2 separate regions of the Homo sapiens genome follow, and region 2 is linked to region 1. Evidence: promoter capture Hi-C in human tissues and cell types (Jung and others, 2019). All regions are on one chromosome and are shown on one strand. The core of a region is centred on a gene start or on the middle of the fragment in contact, and the rest is flanking DNA. Distances in the headings are between cores, read along the strand shown.

The links. The method cuts DNA at HindIII sites, captures the fragments that hold promoters and counts their contacts. A contact is called where the count stands out against the background at its distance.
Region 2: a contact is called between a fragment that was not itself captured here and the fragment with the promoter of SLC5A11 in region 1, in 2 of the 25 tissues and cell types used here (hippocampus and spleen).

Annotation. Positions count from the first base shown.
Region 1 is chr16:24,844,393-24,848,131 of GRCh38, reverse strand. SLC5A11 (solute carrier family 5 member 11) reads right to left here and starts at 2,169. Exons shown (of 17, transcript NM_001352248.3): 1 at 2,120-2,169; 2 at 1,694-1,900. The HindIII fragment of the contact is 12,271 bases long and covers 845-3,739 here.
Region 2 is chr16:24,681,629-24,685,162 of GRCh38, reverse strand. It overlaps a transcript of TNRC6A not described here. Among named protein-coding and RNA genes, the nearest start is that of LINC01567, 12 kb to the right of the region's middle. RefSeq lists an enhancer at 819-1,409. The HindIII fragment of the contact is 7,032 bases long and covers 1-3,534 here.

The sequences.
Region 1 (3,739 bases), core at 920-3,419:
CCTCTGCCTGGGATGCTCTTCCCTGCACTCTTTGCTGGACAAGCTCCTACTCATCCTTTAGATGTCAGCCTGCTGTATATCCCCAAAGGAGCCCCCTCTTGGCCTCAATATAAATTGGGTCCCCAAGCTTTTTGCTTTCATGGCAAACACAACTTCTCATCACAGTCTAATCAAGTGTAACACTTGATGTGTGTGATTACCCCTTGTCTGCACTGCACAGCAAGCCCCATAAAGAAAGGTCCATGTCTCTGTCACTCTCATTGTGTCCCCAAAACAGGCATGCAATAAATGTTGGTACAACAAATAAATGTGGGATTTTTAGAGCCTTTGCTATAGATCCTTTGCACGCTGTGACCGCCCAAAAAAGGGACAGCATTTTTCCAAGTCCTATCTGCAGGATGCCCAATGGGCTAGGACACTTCTGTCAACTATTGCCCAGAATAATTCAGCAGAACACCATTTGAAAACCACTGATTGGTAGGGTGCAGTGGCTCATGCCTGTAATCCCAGCACTTTGCAAGGCTGAGGCGGGAGAATCGCTTGAGTTCAGGAGATTGAGACCAGCCAAGGCAACACAGGGAGACCCCATTTGTACAAAAAATAAAAATAAAAAAGTTAGCAGGGCATGCTGGTGAGCTATGATAGTACTACATTTCAGCCTGGGCAACACAGAGAGACCCTGTGAAAGAAAAGACAGAAAAGAAACGAGAGAGAGAGAGAACAGAAAACACACACAGAGAGAGAGAGGAGGCAAAGAAGGAAAGAAGGAAGGAGAAAGGGAAAGAAAGGAAGAAATAAATAATAAAAGAGAGAGAAGAAAGAAAGAAAGAAAGAAAAAAGGGAAAAGAAAGAGAAACAGAGAGGTGGGAGGGAGGGAAGGAAGGAAAGAAGGAAGGAGAAAGAAAGGGAAAGAAAGGAATAAGGAAAGAAATAAAAGAAAGAAGGAAAGAAAGAAAGAACAAAGAAAAGAAAGGAAAAGAAAGAAAAAGAAAGAAAGAGAAAAAGAAAGAAAGGAAAGAAAAAGAAAATCACTGATATTGTGGCTGAGCTCATGGCCACAGGAATTGAGTCTTGGCTTGGCCACTCACTATCTGTATTACCTTGAGCAAGTTATTTAATGACCCTTAGACTCTGTCCATGAATTAGGGGGTGCTGTACCTACCTTACAGGGTTTCTGTGTCAGTTAGATGAGATCCAGGCGTAAAGTTCTCTGCACGTGTCTGACACGTACCAGTGAAGACTTGTATTTGCCTTGTAGTTAACAGCAGCTGCAGTTGTAGTAAATACATTCCTATAGCTTTTTAATGCTTATGTGGATACATTTACCTTCGTTATCTCTGGGTAACACACCTGTGGGGTGGGTCAGCCTGAGGTTCATATTCCCATTTGACAGATAAGGAACCTGAGACTCGGTGAGGCAAAATGTTTGGCTCAATGTCCCTGACCTTGGTTAAGTGGAAGAGCTGGGACCCACGTACGGTGCTGCTGGCTGCCGGCTGCTGGCTTCATACCACCATGCCCACCCCACAAACACACTCCATTGTCCTGGTGTATGACAAGCTTTCTCTGCAGAGAGGGCTGAGCTTCCCCTGCCCCACAGGTGACAGCTGGAGTCCTTCTGCCAGCACCTGTCCCCAGACCAACTTCCCAGTTTGGAGAGTGGCTACCTGTTTGGGGGCAGGGGGTGTCTTACCTTATTCCAGATGCAGGGCTCACCTGCCCTGGGGGCTGTCAGTGGCTTCTAAGGCACTAGGAGGTGGCGGTGGTTGTAAGGAGGGAGATACCCGGGATCCTCTCTCTTTGCAGCCAAGAGCTTCCGGAGACAGCAGTGACCCTTCCTCCTATATGCCCGCTGCTGAGAGAGCCTCCAAGCGGGTCAAACTCCAAACTCCAGCCTCAGCTGCAGCGGGGATTAAAGGAAGCGTGAATGATCTCCCCAGGGCAGAAGAGAGAACGGGGCCCAGCCCAGGACCCTTGAACTCTGAGCAGGTGGGGAAGGTGACATGTCCCACGCTCTGCCCACACCGTCCTCCACCAGGGTCCTCACCTGCGTGGGGACCCATGGCATGGAGGGGTTGGGGAGACGCTGGAGCCCAAGGCACCATCCTGCTTCACTCACCCAGTCTTCCACTGTCCCGCCTCCACGCTGGGGACAGGCAGGCTTGGGACGAGCTGGAGGAAGGGGAGGGGAGGAAAAATGCTGGCGGCGGATGGAGGGGACAGAGGCAAAGTGCCAGGAGGGACGTCCAGCCACAGCCCTCACCGCAGTGGCAGCAACAGGAACAGCAACCATTGCTTGTGCAACCCCTTTCCATATACTCTTCAGACAGAGGCATGGCAAAGAACAGGTGTCTGCCTGAAGTCGAGAGTTCGAGACCAGCCTGACCAACATGGAGAAACCCCATCTCTACTAAAAATACAAAGTTAGCCGGGTATGGTGGTGCATGCCTGTGGTCCCAGCTACTCGGGAGGCTGAGGCAGGAGAATCACTTGAATCCGGGAGGCGGAGGTTGTGGTGAGCCGAGATTACACCATTGCACTCCAGCCTGGGCAACAAGAGCGAAAATCAGTCTCAAAAAAAGAAGAAGAAGAAGAAGAAGAGGTGTCTGAGGCCCTGAAAAACCGTCAGGAGTGACCGAGCCATGGCCAGGCGCCCACATCGGGCCCAGGACATCAGCGGGGCATAGCGAAGATTTCTGCCAGATGCTCAAAGCATCCAAAACTTTATTTACTTTTTATTTCTGAGACAGGATCTCACTCTGTCACCCAGGCTGGAGTGCAGTGGTGGCATCACAGCTTGCTGCAGGCTCATCCTCCTGGGCTCAAGTGATCCTCCCACCACAGCCTCCCGAGTAGCTGGGACTACAGGCGTGCACCACCACACCCAGCTAATTTTTTCATTTTTTTGGTAGAGAGAGAATCTTGCTATGTTGCCCAGGCTGGTCTCCAACTCCTGGGTTTAAGTGATCCTCCCACCTTGGCCTCCCAAAGTGCTGGGATTACAGGGGTCAAACACTGTGCCAGGCCAAATACCAAAACATTTTAAAAATAGTTACTAGTATTTGCAAACCAAGAGGCTTGAAACATAATTCTAGAATACTCACTTTTCTAGAACAACCTGAAGATCTGGCCTCACCAGGCCCCCATGGCCACAGGACAGCTGCTGACTGGGGAGGAGTCGTGGCCTCCCCATCTCACTCCTTCACTGGGCCTGCCAGGCTCTGGGGGGCCCTCAGCTGAGGCCCCTGTCCTGGCACCGAGTAGCCAGAAATAATAGCAGTGATGAACACGTGCCAGGCTCTAAGGGCACAACATGCCTTTACTCACTTGGTCTTTCCAACAACCCTCGAAGTTAGGTCCTGTTATCTCTATCTTACTGACGAGGTAACAGAGGTAGAGGAGATGAGTCATCGGCCCAGGATCACCCGGGTTGTAAGTGACACAGCAAGATTTCAGCCCAGGCCACCTGGCTCTAGAGTCCTGCAGGAGCAGTGGAGGGTGGCTTGACTGGATAAAGGGTGGCCTGGGTGAGCAAACACTGGGTGACTGACCAACACCAGTATGAATGGGGCCTTTGGGGGAGGGACCTGCCCTGGGGGACAGATTTACAGAAGGAACAGCTGGGATTGGAGAAGAGGGACAGACAGAAGGCCATGAATCTGTGATCTGCAGCAGAGGCCACAGCACCAGGAAAGGCAGTGGGGTGCCACCGAGGGTGCACTGCTTCGCCAACCTGGGG
Region 2 (3,534 bases), core at 683-3,182, 160 kb after region 1:
GAAGACAAACGCAATTCTAGGATCACACAGCCTGTGGATGGGCAGGTGCTTCCAGTTCAGAGAGAGAGAGAGACCCCTCTGGAAGCCCTGAGTTTGGAAGGATTTGGCCTCTTGGAAGAACTGCAAGAAGGCCAGAGGGGCTGAAGTTCCCAAGAGCATGGAGGCAAGTGTCAGAAGCTGGATTCCGTAGGGACCAGGGTAGCTTTTATCTCTAAAAGGGCTTCCCAGGCCTGACTCAGAGTGAGTTTAGAAGAAAGTGAAGTTTCATGTGCATTGTTAGAGGGTCTGTCCTGCCTGACACCGGCTGCTTTTGTGTGGGCCTTGAACTAAAAATGGTTTTAGTTTTTATTTTTATTAGAGACACAGTCTCGCTCTGTTGCCCAGGCTGGAGTGCAGTAATGTGATCACAGCTCACGGTAACCTCGAACTCTTGGGCTCTGGTTATCCTCCCACCTCAGCCTCCTGAGTAAGTGGGACTAAAGACAACTGTCACTTCACTCAGCCGATTTTTAAATTTTTTGTAGAGATGGGGTCTCACTCTATTGCCCAGGTTGGTCTTGCACTCCTGGCCTCAAGTGATCCTCCCATCTTGGTTTCCCAAAGCACTGGGATTACAGGTGTGAGCTGCTGTGCCCAGCCCTACATTTTAAAACACTGAAAAAGAATCCAAAGAAGAATACTATTTTGTGACATGTAAAAATTAGGTAAAATTCAAATTTCAGCATCTATAAATAAAATTGTGTTATGTTTTTGTTTTAAGACAGGGCCTCGCTCTGTTGCCCAGGCTGGAATGCGGTGGCTCGATCTCAGCTCACTGCAGCGTCTACCTCCTGGGGGCCAAGTGATCCTCCCACCTCAGCCCCCCAAGTAGCTGGGACCCCACGTGCCACCACCACACCTAGCTAATCTTGTTTATTTTATTTTTTTGTAGAGTTGAGGTCTCATTGTGTTGCCCAGGCTGGTCTCAAACTCCTGGGCTCAAGCAATCCTCCCACCTCAGTCTCCCAAATGGATTACAGGCATAAGCCATTGTGCCCAGCCATATAAATAAAGTTTTATTGACATACAGTCACACCCATTCATTAAGGATTGTCATGGGTGCTTTTGCACTACAATGGCAGAGTTGAATAGTGGTGACAAAGATGTTTGATTCACAAAGACTAAACTATTTACTACTACTCTGTTAAGAAGCTCACTGAGGCTTGGACAAGACACTCCTGGCTTTAGGGTGCAGAGTCTAATTAGGGAGAGCTCACACATCAGTACCTTTGAAGGGGAAGAGAGACTGGGAAGCAACAGTTCACTGTGAGTTAGTGTCGATGCCTATAATACCTTTATACCTGCTAGGGCTCACTAGGTGCAGGGCACTCTCCTTATTTTACCTCATTAAGTCCTGAGGCCTGTGGTTGTCCTTACTTTACAGATGAGGAAACTGAGGACAGCGAGAAGAGCTAAGGAAATTGCCCAAGGTTGCACAGCTAGTCGGTGGCAGAAACAGGACTTGAACTCGGGCAGTTTACCTCCAGAATCTGGGCTGTTAGCACGGCACTCTACCACCTCCCATGGGGAAGAGGGTGGCTGATGTTGGTGATGAACACAGCTGTGGCTTGTCTGCTGAGCCTTGCCTGAGCTACCATCTCACATGTCATAAAAACTGCAGGATAGGGGCTGGGCACGGTGGCTCATGCCTGTAATCCAAGCACTTTGGGAGGCCAAGTGGGAGGATCGCTTGAGCACAGGTGTTTAAAACCAGCCTGGGCAACATAGCAAGACTCCGTCTCTACAAAATAATTTAAAAAATTGCTGGGCATGGTGGTGTATGCCTGTAGTCCCACCTACTTGGGAGGCTGAGGTGGGAGGATTGCTTGAGCCCAGGAGGTTGAGGCTGAAGTAAACTATGATTGTGCCACTGCACTCCAGTGAGTGATAGAGTGAGAACTTGTCTCAAAAACAACAATAGTAACAACAACAAAAAAACACCAAAACCCAAAAAACTGCAGGAGAGCCTTTTCCTGCCACTAGAGCTGTTTTGGGGGCTTCCAGTATCTGATAAGAGTTTGTGCTCGTCATGGGGTCTCCTTGCTCTCAGTTCCAAGCTTCATAGCACATATGAGCCCAGGGCATTGGAGCCTCCAAAACTAGCTGGTGACCTTGGACAAGTTAATGAATCTCTCTGAGCCTCAGTTTTCCATTAGAATGTAAACAACTATCTTGAAGGATTATTGTGAGGGTTAAATTCAATGATGCATTTATCGAACACTTGGTGTACGCCTTGTGTCTTGGGAGGCTAAGTGTATACACTGTTCGATGGGCTCCCTTGTCTTCTGGCTTCCCATTGGTTTTGACCAATAGGGAGCCCCAGAAGATGATTGAGGAAGGGAGGAGACGGGGCTTGGGGCATTTATTCTCTGGCTGCTTCTCTGCGGTCATTCTGCGTGCTGGCTGCCTTAAAGTCACATTTCCCACCTCGGTGGCCCTCTCTCTATAGGCTTCTCAGTCTCTAGGGTACAGTGGTCATTCTTCCCCTTGGCCTTTCAGGCATAGGGGTGGTAACAGAAGCCAGCCTAATTAGTCCTGTGGATCCTTGCGGTTTTCTGCCCTCCGTTTGTAGAGTTCCTCTATTCAATCTTCCTTCAGCTGCGTGTGGTAGCTCATGCCTGTCATCCCAGCACTTAGGGAGGCCGAGGCAGGCAGACCGCTTGAGTCCAGGAGTTTGAGACCAGCCTGGACCATATGGCAAAACCCCATCTCTACTGAAAAAAAAAAAAAAAAAGCTGGGCGTGGTGGTGCACGCCTGTAGTCCCAGCTACTTGGGAGGCGAGGTGAGAGTATCGCTTGACCTTGAGAGGTTGAGGCTGCGGTGAGCTGAGATCACACCACTGCACTCCAGCCTGAGCAACAGAGCAAGACCCTGCCTTTAAAAAAAAAAAAATCAAACAAGTCCTCCTTTCATGACCTAATTTGAACATGTCTTCTCTTTCCTTCCCTTGACTGATGCATTCTTTGTTTACATTAATTACTCAAGTAGATCTGGTAGACTGTGTGCATTCTGCCCAGTTTCACAAAATAGCCACTCTCCAATTCCCCCGTACAACATTTACAGACAGTTGACTATCCTATCACAACTTACATCAGAGATGAATGATACTTATACTGGCGAGGCCGTGGGGAACAGAGGTGCTTTCATCGACAGATGGGCGGGAATATAATATAGTACAAGCTAAATACAGAGGAGTTTGGCAACACGTTGCAACATTTTAAAATATGCATCCCTTTTGACTCAGCAGTTTCATCTTTAGGAATTTATCTCAAGGAAATAATTATGGTAGTGTGAAAATAGTAATGTACTGGGGTACAATCAAACCAGTTGTCTATCAGTAGTTGACTAATTAATTAATTCCCATTTGTTGGGTGCCTATTAAGCATCAAGCACTGTTCTAGCCCCTAAGGATAGAGCAGCAAATAAATCTGAAAAAGCCCTGTTTTCATGGAGCTTATATTTTAACAGTTGGACTAATTACAACACATGTATAC